Linked DNA regions of Homo sapiens: regions 2 and 3 are each linked to region 1. Evidence: promoter capture Hi-C in 16 types of primary human blood cells and fetal thymus (Javierre and others, 2016). All regions are on one chromosome and are shown on one strand. Each heading gives the region's core, a stretch centred on a gene start or on the middle of the fragment in contact. The rest is flanking DNA. Distances are from core to core; before and after follow the strand shown.

Region 1 (3,564 bases), core at 175-2,674:
TTGGCCCAGCCTCATTTTTTAAAACAGGCCTTTTGATTTTAACATTTTCTGCAAAAACAAAGTCCTCTGATATAAACTGTGATCCAGCTCAGACCAGGCATCTATTTTTGTCCCCTGCTCCCCGACTATGTAAAAAATTCCCATCACTAAACCTTCTCATTATTGGGAGGGGGCGTGAGCATGCGTTAAGATTTATGATTGAGACTCCCCCAAAAGTAGTAAAACACTTCCAGAGGATCTAAGACAATCACCAAAAGCGCCCCTTAGCGTGTGCGGCAAAAATTATAACCGAATGCAAAGAATCTTATCAAAGGAATGTCTTCAAGTTAACCAACGTTTCCTATTACACCTTCCAAAGCTGTTAGGGGCGAGTCCCACGCAGAACGTCCGCTGCTCTGCCTGGCCTCTGTGTTCTTGCTCCAGCCACACACCGCGGTCTCAGGAGTCAAGCACGGCACCTGGCTGCCAAGGCGTGACTGGAAAAGGTTAATTAACACCGAGCCTCTTCCAGGTGAACGCGAACGCGAGTGGGTGTGGACCGCAAGGTCGGCCAGTGGCTGCCGCGGGAAGCGCAGGCCCGGACCACACCCGACCTCCGCACTTGGGGTCCCCTCCGGCGGGATCCGCAGCTCTCGGGGTGGGTGGTCTCCAGCCGGCCACTGCGGGAATGCCGCCGGTCCTGGAAGGACACCCTTCTATTCAAACTCAAGGGAGAAAGGGATCATTTAAATCCCCCGCATGGCTGCGCGCTATCCCCGGAAGGCTGCTCCAGCACCACCTAGCGAGGATGCCGCCGCGCAGGGCGCTCCCAGGTGTGCACGCGCAGGTGTACGGATTCGGGGAGCGCTCCCAGGTGTACACGCGCAGGTGTGCGGACTCAGGGAGCGCTCCCCAGGTGTGCACGCGCAGGTGTGCGGACTCGAGGAGAGCGCCCAGGTGTACACTAGCAGGTGTGCGGACTCGGGGAGCGCTCCCAGGTGTGAGCGCGCAGGTGTGCGGACTTGGGGCGGTGGGGGGCGCCCAGGCTTGCACGCGCAGGTGTGCGGACTCGGAAGCGCGCCCAGGCGTACACGCGCAGGTGAGCGAACTCGGGGGGCGCGCCTAGGCGTAGGTATGCGGACTCCGGGCCGCGAAAGACAGGTCATGCCAGTGAACCCCCAAACCCGGCCCACGCTCCCTGCGCCCCAAGCCGCTCATCCCCAACTCACCTCTTCCAGAAATTTGGTCAAATCGTACACCTTGTGGTGCAGGATCAGCCAGGTGCTCTTGCTGTGGTTGTGCTTCTGAATCTCCTCTAGGGTGTAGTACTTCACGGCCTCGTCCGACTGCTCTGCCATCTCGGTTCGCCGCGAGCCAGGCCCAGCACACACAGCCCCGTCGGGTGGAGCAGAGCGCGCGACTCAGCCAGCTCCACCCGGGACATTCCCCGCGCCGGGAACCCCACTGGGGGCTGGGCGGCCGGCTCAGGGGCGGGGCGCAGTAGAAGGGCCTCCGACGGTTGGCCATCATCCTTGTCACTCAAAAGTCCCCGCCTTCGGTCGACCCCCTCCGCCTGCCCAAGCGTGGTCCCGCCCAGTATGCGGGTGTTAATTGGCTGCCGGAGGTGCCCTTCACAATCTCCCGGCTGCCGCAGCGCGCGGAGAGCGTGACAGGACTCCACGGAGTCTGCGCGGAAGGGCGGGACTAACTGTGGCGAGGGCTGAGGTGGGAGGTCGGGGGCGTCCCCGCGGGTTAAGCGTGCGAGAGAGCGAGGTGCACCAGCGGGCATGGATGGCCTGTGCAGAGTCCAGTCTTGTGAGGGCGGCGAACTAGGCAGCGAATCGCGGGAGTTTCCTATTGGCAGCAGTCCGAGTCCCAGACGTTAATTTGTAACAAAAGTAGCGATGGCCAAGCCCATAAAGGGGGCATCTCGGAAAGCCGTTCGCATGCACGGAAGAGATGAAAGCCCCGTGCGCGCTAGAAAACGGTTTCGCAACTCACTTCGGGAAGCAAATGCGCTGCCCCCCAAAACATAAAGTTGGCGAACTGTGCCTGACCCCGCTGGGGTTTTGGAATGCCTCGTCCTCACAGGAAAAAAATCCAGGGAAATCATCTTTTCCTTAAAAAGCAAAAGTGTCCAAATTATTTCTGTGACTGAAGTAGTTTGTCTGCGGTTGGCCAGTGACATGGCAAGGCCTTGTTTGTGCATTTAAGGTAAATCAGATTCTCTTCTAGGAGTCTGGAAGAGAACTTCCCCAAAGGGCACCCTCTTTCCCTTCTGACACAGAGGAAATACCACATATAAAGAGCTACAAATGTTTGAAGGAGAAAAAAAATAAAGAAAAATTCCAGCATGTTAAAATTTGATATTTTATGTAGGCCCTTTTCAGCAATGGTAGTTAATTCCAAAAAGAACCACACGAGAGGTTTCACATGTGGGGTCATCCATCCTTCCAGGGATGCAGAAGGTTCCTACACATACTAGGTGTCTGATGAATGTGAGCTCCCTTCCCCCTGCTTACCTCCTCCATAGGAATGCATGCCTATCCAGAAAAACACAAAACACACGCATGTCAGGCCTCTGAGCCCAAGCCTGCACATATACATCCAGATGGCCTGAAGCAACTGAAGAATCACAAAAGAAGTGAAAATGCTGAAGCAACTGAAGAATCACAAAAGAAGTGAAAATGGCCGGTTCCTGCCTTAACTGATAAGACAGTCACCTGTCCTCCTGCTCTTTGCTCTGTGAGAAAGATCCACCTACAACCTCGGGTCCTCAGACCAACCAGCTCCAGGAACATCTCACCAATTTTAAATTGGGTAAGCAGCTTCTTTTTACTCTCTTCTCCAACCTCTCTCACTATCTCTCAACCTCTTTCTCCTTTCAATTTTGGCACCACCCTTCAATCTATCCCTTCCCTTAATTTCAGTTCCTTTCCTTTTCTGATAGAGACAGAGGAGATGTGTTTTATCCGTGAACCCAAAACTCCGGCACTGGTCACGGACTCGAGAAGACAGTCTTCCCTTGGTGTTTAATCACTGCAGGGATGCCTGCCTGATTATTCACCCACATTTCAGAGGTGTCTGATCACCACAGGGACACCTGCCTTGATCCTTCACCTTGGTGTCAAGTACCGACCCCCCCTGTGTCTCTGCCCTCTCTTTTCTCTGGGCTTGCCTCCTTCACTATGGGCAACCTTCCACCCTCCATTCCTCCTTCTTCTCCCTTAGCCTGTGTTCTCAAGAACTTAAAACCTCTTCAACTCTCGCCTGACCTAAAACCTAAACACCTTATTTTCTTCTGCAATACCACCTGACCCCAATACAAACTTGACAGTGGTTCCAAATAGCCAGAAAATGGCACTTTCAATTTCTCCACCCTACAAGATCTAGATAATTCTTGTCGTAAAATGGGCAAATGGTCTGAGGTTCCTGACATCCAGGCATTCTTCTACACATCAGTCCCGCCCTAGTCTCTGCTCCCAATGCGACTCATCCCAAATCTTTCTTCTTTCTCTCCTGTGTGTTCCTTCGGTCTCCACCCCAAGCTCTGAGTACTTTGAATCCTCCTTTTCTGTGGAGCCA
Region 2 (4,022 bases), core at 18-2,517, 140 kb before region 1:
CTATGAAGCATTGTGGTAGGAGGTATAGGGTACAATTGTCTTTTACTTGGGAGGGCATGTCTTGGCACGCCCCAGTGTAGCCCCACGAGGTCGGCTCATGTGTTGATGAGCCTCTGCATCTTTGTTGGACCCACCTCTCACACTTGCAGCTTCTCTGACCAAGCCTTCTAACACACTTGCCACTTGTTACTTATGGGCTCTAACATGATGGCATAAATATAGTAGACAAATGTGATATTCTCCTGAATGTCCAGAACAGCATTATTCAAATAAAACTTTCTGCATAGAAATGTCCTATATCTGTGCTGTCCATTTGGGTAGTTCCTGGCCACTTGTAGCTATTTTGAGCACTTGAAATGTTGCTAAAACTTGTGACTGAAGAACTGAATTGATTTAATTTTAATTAATTTAAAATTGAACTGAAATAGCCATGAGTGGCAAGTGGCTACTGTATTAGACAGCCCAGGTCCAGAAGGTTTCAGTCCCTTAAGACTGTTATGATAGAGGGTGAGAGAATTAGCAAATCCTGGGCAGGATCATAAACATACACTGTTATTATCTGTTTCATGTTACTACAGACTACTGCTGCTGCTTCTGAATAGAAGGCGTTCTTCAAAGCAATGGCCAATACCATGAGATTGTGTTAATGCATTCCCCTGTAAAGTTACCATTTGTGGTATTACATGTGTACCCCGGCTGCCACTTGGTTGAGTTTGCAGTTAACCACTGTCATTCTCCAGCACCTATTTGTGTTTTGTAAAGGAAGACTGGTAAATTACAAGGGACCGTGATGGGGATCGCCATGCCTGTATCTAAGGTCTCTAAGAATACTCTGCCATTCCCCATAGATGTGATATCATTTTTAATTTCCTATCTTGGTCACCGAAAGGGCAGCTTCAGGGGCTTCCATTTGACTTTTCCCACTGCGATGGCTCTTAACCCACTTCCAAAGGAACTAAAGTGGGAGTTATTGTTGCCAGTTACTCAGTACATCCCCTTGATTTATACATTTGGAAATCACAGAAATTATTGCCAGGTAAGTCCCTGGACCCACCTGTGAGCTTCTTACATCCGGTGATGGAGGGCGGTCAGGGGGTCATCATGACTCTTTGGGTCCTTGGGTATCACTGTCAGCACAGACTATGTCCAAGTTGATAACTGTAGGTCCTTTTGGTGAAGGACGGGGGGAGTCAGTTACATACGCTTTCCTTCAGTAAATGCGTTCCAGGTCTGAAAACTGGTTCAGGTCCAGAAACTGGGGCAATGTTCAGGACTTTGCATTAGAGCAGCTGCCTTCAGCCTCAGGAATCATCTGTAGTTAATTTCTCATGACTGTGTAATTCAGAAGTAGCCTTGTCCGCTGCCCTTGTGTCTTCCCTTTGGAAACACTGTGTTCTAGTCATCAACTCTGTTGCTTTCTGTAGGTCAGACACTCCCGACTGCCACTCCAGCCTTGCCATTAGTTATGATGGTTGCACCCACCTTGGCTTCTGTTTAACACCCCAGCCTGGTCTCTGCTTCATAATTCTTTCATCTCCATTTCTGTCAGGGCATCCTGCTCTATAAAGATGTAACTGTGGCTTCCTTGTGGCTTTGGTACACAGTGTCCTCCTGTCCCTCCTAAGAACATAGTCAGCTGGTGGGTTTTCGGGCTTTATATCTTATATCTATGGTAGCATCCCCATTCTTGGAGGCTGTTGAGCCTTTCGTCCAGTTTGCCATGGCTGTTCTGTCACTTTTACTTAATGTGGACCATCACTGTCTCGAAGTTTCCAGGAGCAGACCTAGCCAGCTGCATATCAGTTCCCAGGGTGCTTGCCTGGTTGCTAAATTCATCACAGGAGCGTGCCCCATGCTGATCAACTCTCAGCTGGTTTTGTGTTCTGTGCCCTTGACACACCACCCTTAAGAAGCAGTGGTGTCTATGTTCCCCCCCCCCCCGGGGGGACCTCCAGCTCCTTCCGAGTATTGTTCTTCTCACCCTTCTCATGCCCAGTCGTGTTGTAACTTGGCCAGGAGGGGAGGTGGAGAGCCCTCCTGAGAGCAGCACGTATCTTGCTAGGCAGAAACCCCCACCCACCCCTCGCCCAGTTTCCAAGGTGGAGGAAGTGCCAACCTTTACCAGACACTGAGCTGCTGCTTCAGGGCTAGAGGGGTCAGGAGAATTGGGATTCAAGATTTTTTACAACATTGACCTCAAGGGCCCCCTACCCAGCTTTAGGTTGCCTTTCCTCCCAAATCAGGACCCTGACCTTGGTGTGGGAGGTCTCATGGGCTTGAAATGCCAAACTCCCTGAATCCCTTCCGCCCCAGACCTCACCCACGCATTTTCTATCCTCTGGGTGCAATTTGAGTCTTGTTCTGCCGGGGAGGAGGCTCCTGCCCTTGGCACTCACCTTCACTGGTGATTAGTTACACACTTCATCTCACCATCCCTCTCCATGGCCCCAGCCACAGCCGTCTGATATAAGTCCTTAAAATTGCTGATTCCTCCTAAACTCCCAGAATAACACATCAGCCAGTACATTCCCTTCCGCCAGCATTCCATCCCAGGTCCCCATTGGTGAGAGCTGCATCAGCTGCACTACAGCTCTATGACAGGTGCTGTCAGTACCCCCCTACCACCAGGGACAGGGTCCTCATTGCCAGCCAGTGGCCGGCAAGCCAGCTCCAAAATCCAAATTGAGAGCTGCTTACCACTCCTGGTAGCACCCGTTGTAGGTTGGCTTCCCAGGGAAGTGGGATTTGCGTAAGGTTTATCAGGGAGTGCTCTCAGAATACGTCTTGAGGGATGAGGGAAGCAGGACTGGGCAGAGGGAGAGGCCGAAGTGCATTTGCAGTTGGGGCCTCAGCTGCTGCTCTGGGGACTTCTGGAGCTGAGCTGGCCAGTCACTGTCCTACCTAATATGGGGGCTGAGTCTTATGCTTCTGCATCAACCAGGCATTGAATATGGGCTGGTCCAGGGAAGTGCCGTGACCTAAGTGAGGAAGCTCTCTTATGATGGAATGCCCAGAGAGGAGCTCAGCTGACAACTGTCCGCTACCAGTGCTCCCTGCAGCTGGGAGCCCCATACCACAGCACCCACTATAGGAGGGGTAGAGAATTGTGGAAGCAAATAAATGGCATGAGGGTTTTTTGCATACAAGTATTAGGTCTGATAGGGTTCAGAAAGTTAGACAGTGAGCAGCTTCCATTGGAGACAGCTATAAAGTAACAAACAGAAATTTTTCAAGTGTGTAGAATATGGAGAATATTTAGCACAGGGCTTTATATATAACAGATATACAGGAGCTGTTGTTTATCAAATAAATGGAAAAGACCTGTCAGATACCCTAAGCAAGGTAGGAATGAATTGTTGGAAGGGACAGTCAGAAGTCCAGGGTGTTGGGGCCAATGACCCGGTTTGGGTAACAAGGACAAATAAGGATACTTACTAGAACTAGTTAGTTGTTATTGTATTCTCAACCTGGGAGTTGATACATAACTGGCAGGTAATATTTATTGAAATGTATTTTGTGACACTGAGAGTGGAATGAGATGTCGTCATTGTAGGCCCCAACTCCTGAACCTTGGAAGGGAAATTGGATTTGTGACAATTGTTTGAGTCAGTCCCATGAATTACACAGATTTTGGCAGATGAGGTCTTTTTATTATTTGAATAATGTCTTCTAAGTTGGGAACCTTGCTGAAAACTTGAAGGATTGTGATACGCTAAAGACTACTTTTAAACAAGCGTTGTATTAGCTAAATACTTCTTTTAAACAATGTTGTTTATAAACATAATAGAAGCTTTTTATACAGAAGAGAAAATAACAGCAACATCTATTAAAATTTTCTTCCAAAAGTTTTTTTCTTAAAAATTTTTTAAAGATTTATATTTCAGAAGTCTGAATGGCTAATGTGGTGAATAAATTAGTCTATAAACATAATGCCAGGAGGTGACTCACTTTCTCAGCATCAGTGAAAAGCATAGTCGTAATTGTAATGTTAAGGTAGTGTAACTGTAATGTTATAGCTCTTT
Region 3 (3,755 bases), core at 1,112-3,611, 210 kb after region 1:
CAGTTGCTCTTCCTTCCAAGAACCTTCGAGATCTGCGGTCTGGGGTCTGGTTGAAAGATGGCGGCCCTCACTACCCTGTTTAAGTACATAGATGAAAATCAGGATCGCTACATTAAGGTAAGGGAATATTCATTTTAGGAAACAGTAAAATCTGATTTAATCCCATGGGGCCCAGAGAAGTTGTCAAGAGCTAATATGAATTATGCCATTTAAATCCAGGGTTAGAAGATCTGCCTAGAGATCTGTTCATTAGCTTCTTATTATGGCATAGGTTACACTTTTGGTTTTTGACAAAGTGTTAATGTATGTTTCTAAGAATAGCAAATCTAATTGAAATTTTTGTTTCATCTCCATCAACAATTTCTTGTGATAGTTACAGATTAAATAGTTTGCATTAAGTATGTTCTAAGTAATTCAATAGTTATATATTAATCTGTTTCTTGATGTTAACTTAGAGCATTATGTTTTAAAGTTATTCTTCGTACATACATTACAGATGAAATCTTTAGAATTCTCATGCTAAAATTATACTTTAGAAAATTTGGCCATTGTCGGGATGATAAATAAGCTAATTTGGACTGTGGCAACATTGGGTATTTTCTGTATCTTTCAGTTGTAATTTAGTCACATTCAGATAAAAACTTATTTACGGAACCTGGTACATTTTACATTTACTTCCTCCTTAATTGTTAAAAATAAACCATGTGACATTTTTCTTTTGTACTCTAGTTCTTGGTACAGGGTTAGTACTGTAGCAGGACAAGCCACAGACAAAACCTCTCAGACACCGAGTTGTAGAAGGAAGGGCTTTATTCAGCTGGGAGCATCGGCAAGCTACTGCCTTAAAATCCGAGCTCCCTGAGTGCACAATTTCTGTCCCTTTTAAGGGCTCACAGCACTAAAGATTTCACATGAAAGGGTCGTGATTGATTTGAGCAAGCAGGCAGTACGTGACAGGGGCTGTATGCACCGGTGGTCAGAGAGAAACAGAACAGGGCAGGGAATTTCACAGTGTTCTTTTATACAATGTCTGGAATCTATGAATAACATCGGTTTTTAAGTCATGAGTTGATTTTTAACTACTAGGTTTAGGCCAGGCAGGCCCGGGTCCGGTTTTGGGCCTGGCGCCGGGCTGCCTGTCTTTGATTTCACTTCCTTGTTTTTTTTTTGTTTGTTTTTAAACAGGTACTGAGTGTAAAACAATATGAGAGGGTCTCTCTCTTCCCTCAGTACAAACAGTTTTTAAAATCTTTAACCCAAAGCACACGTGATGGGTCTGTCCTATTTCCAATCAGCCTGTTCAACTGCAGCAGCCACAGAGGGTGAGCCTGGAATGTGGCAACGTTACGGGAGCCTCTTCTCCCTCAAGGACACCTTTTCAGAATCCCTCGTTGCTTCTTGTCCACAAACAGAAACTCGCAAAATGGGTGGCTATCCAGAGTGTGTCTGCGTGGCCGGAGAAGAGAGGCGAAATCAGGAGGATGATGGAAGTTGCTGCTGCAGATGTTAAGCAGTTGGGGGGCTCTGTGGAACTGGTGGATATCGGAAAACAAAAGGTAGGAGGCAACATTCTTTGCATTGCAGGACCGTAGACAGATTCTGCCTGAGGGGTTGACAAGACGCCACAAGTTCTTAAAAGATCTTTTGCTTCACATACCCCACTCACCTTTAAAACAAAAAAGGAAGGGCCTGATTTGGATGGTAAGTTCTGTACGTGACTGCTTCAGTTGGATTGGGGCAAAGGTTTTGTGGCACTCAGCATTTTTCTCCAGGAAGGAGAACTGCTGACAGTTACTCAGGACTAAGTTAATGTAACAGTCATTCTGAGAGAATGGCTGAGATTCCCCTCCCAGCAATCCATAAGCTTTCAAACTAGGAAGTTACACTTTATTCAAGTCCATTTAAAAATTATAAAGACTCCCCCCAACCCCCGGCTCCCCCTCACACACAGTGCTGCGTCCTTGAGCCTTATTTTTTTATTTTTTTTATTTTTTTGAGACAGAGTCTCCCTCTGTCGCCCAGGCTGGAGTGCAGTGGCGTGATCTCGGCCCACTGCAACCTCCGCCTCCCGGGTTCAAGCGATTCTCCTGCTTCAGCCTCCTGAGTAGCTGGGCGAGCGCCACTACACCCAGCTAATTTTTATATTTTTTGTAGAGACGGGGTTTTGCCATGTTGGCCAGGCTGGTCTCGAACTCCTGACCTCAGGTGATCCGCCTGCCTCAGCCTCCCAAAATGCTAGGATTACAGGTGTGAGCCACTTTTTCATAAGAGATATTTTGTGTGGGGGTCTGTTGTTTTTCAGTGCAGGATTCTGACAGGTGAGAATGGTTTGTTTTCTTGCTAAATGAACAGTCTCACTTTGTGGTACAGTAAGTACTCACGTCATCCATAGGTTCTTAGAAACTGCAACTTTAAGCAAGACAACATACAACAACAGGTCCTTGAATAAGGTAGTTTTGTTCACTTAAAGTCACAGTTTCTAAAAGCCTATCCATGAAGTTGAGTGAGGACTTACTGTGTGTGTGTATATATATGTGTGTTTTTTTTGTCTTTTTGGTTTTTTTTTTTGTCGGGATGGGGTTTCACCATGTTTCCAGGCTGGTCTCAAACTTCTAGTCTCAAGCGATTTACCTGCCTTGGCATCCCAAATTGTCACGCCACCATACCCGGCCTCTTACTGTATGTTATTTCACTAGTTTATTTCAAATGATTTCAGCCTTATGTTAATTGCATGTTTCATGCCATATATTTTCAAAGTTTGTAATATTCTTTTATATTCTTTGATCTAATGATAAGCTATGGCTTATCTCGGTTCTTTGGCCTGATGATTTGGGTGTCAATCTGAAATCACAGCACTAGAAGCTTGAGTGTGGCCATTCAGTTCAGCGCATTCGTTTCATCAGAGGGAGAGAGTGGAGGCCAGGCAGCTCTGTCCACTGGGAGCCCACAGGAGGCTCATGCAGAGCAGGTTCATGCCCAGGCCTCCTGATTCCCCAGGCAGTGCTATTCATTTGAGGTTTTCTTCTGAAAACAAATTTAATAATTGACTTAGGGTATATTATAGCTTCCCACCAATTTTCCCCCCATCTTTGGGAGACTAAACCAAGTTTCTTCATGTTGTTTCTTTTTAGGGTCAGACTCACCTTGCTCCCTTTCGTTTTTTTTTTTTTCCTAATATATTGAAAAATCTAGGTGAGGTAAATCATTTTTAGGAGTTGTTTCATTACAATAGTTATATTTACTTCGTTGATCACTGACATTGCTGTGCAATTCTTAAGAAAGGGCCTTTCATAAAAAACTAAATTACTGTTATACTATTTTGAATTACATAACACTGATTTTTATCAAGGAATTGAAATATTTCATCACTGGTGGAATCTTCTGCAGAGATGCTTGCGGTGTGGGGTGACCACACATCTTCTGTTCTCTTCCCGCATGTCCATGTGGCAGTGGTGTTCTGTTTTTCAGAGTGATGATGACTTGATGCAGGGGTGAAGGTGGAAGTGGGTGTTTTCCTGTGTCAGTGCAGAAGTCAGAGTATTTTCAGCTGATGAAGGAAAGGTGATGTTGGGCGTTTCAGAACAATTTTACCTGTGGGCCAAAGCAGTTTCTCAGAAAATGCCTAAGTATTTCAGAGGAGCCCTATTGAACAGGAATTTATGTAGAGAAAATCTGTGGTCATTTGAAAATCATTTTTCTGCTCAGGCAAGCTGAGGGCCAGCTGGGACTGCCAAAGCCATGGGTTCCCTGGGACC

The links. Contacts are between HindIII fragments. The CHiCAGO score rates a contact against its expected background, and 5 or more counts as called.
Region 2: a contact is called between a fragment that was not itself captured here and the fragment with the promoter of CYB5A in region 1, in 3 of 17 cell types (total CD8 T cells, naive CD8 T cells and fetal thymus). The highest score is 6.1, in total CD8 T cells.
Region 3: a contact is called between a fragment that was not itself captured here and the fragment with the promoter of CYB5A in region 1, in 6 of 17 cell types (total CD8 T cells, naive CD8 T cells, naive CD4 T cells and 3 more). The highest score is 9.1, in total CD8 T cells.

What each region holds. Positions count from the first base shown.
Region 1 is chr18:74,290,539-74,294,102 of GRCh38, forward strand. It overlaps CYB5A (cytochrome b5 type A), which reads right to left and starts at 1,425. Exons shown (of 5, transcript NM_148923.4): 1 at 1,209-1,425. The coding sequence starts at 1,337. RefSeq lists enhancers at 4-611, 1,217-1,386, 1,466-1,635, 1,925-1,984, 2,344-2,513. The HindIII fragment of the contact is 14,442 bases long and covers 1-3,564 here.
Region 2 is chr18:74,150,009-74,154,030 of GRCh38, forward strand. The region is part of intron 1 of TIMM21 (translocase of inner mitochondrial membrane 21); the gene reads left to right. Among named protein-coding and RNA genes, the nearest start is that of TIMM21, 3.5 kb to the left of the region's middle. RefSeq lists an enhancer at 509-1,708. The HindIII fragment of the contact is 5,042 bases long and covers 1-3,788 here.
Region 3 is chr18:74,499,917-74,503,671 of GRCh38, forward strand. It overlaps CNDP2 (carnosine dipeptidase 2), which reads left to right. Exons shown (of 12, transcript NM_018235.3): 2 at 1-117; 3 at 1,413-1,556. The coding sequence starts at 58. Among named protein-coding and RNA genes, the nearest start is that of CNDP2, 5.4 kb to the left of the region's middle. The HindIII fragment of the contact is 998 bases long and covers 1,863-2,860 here.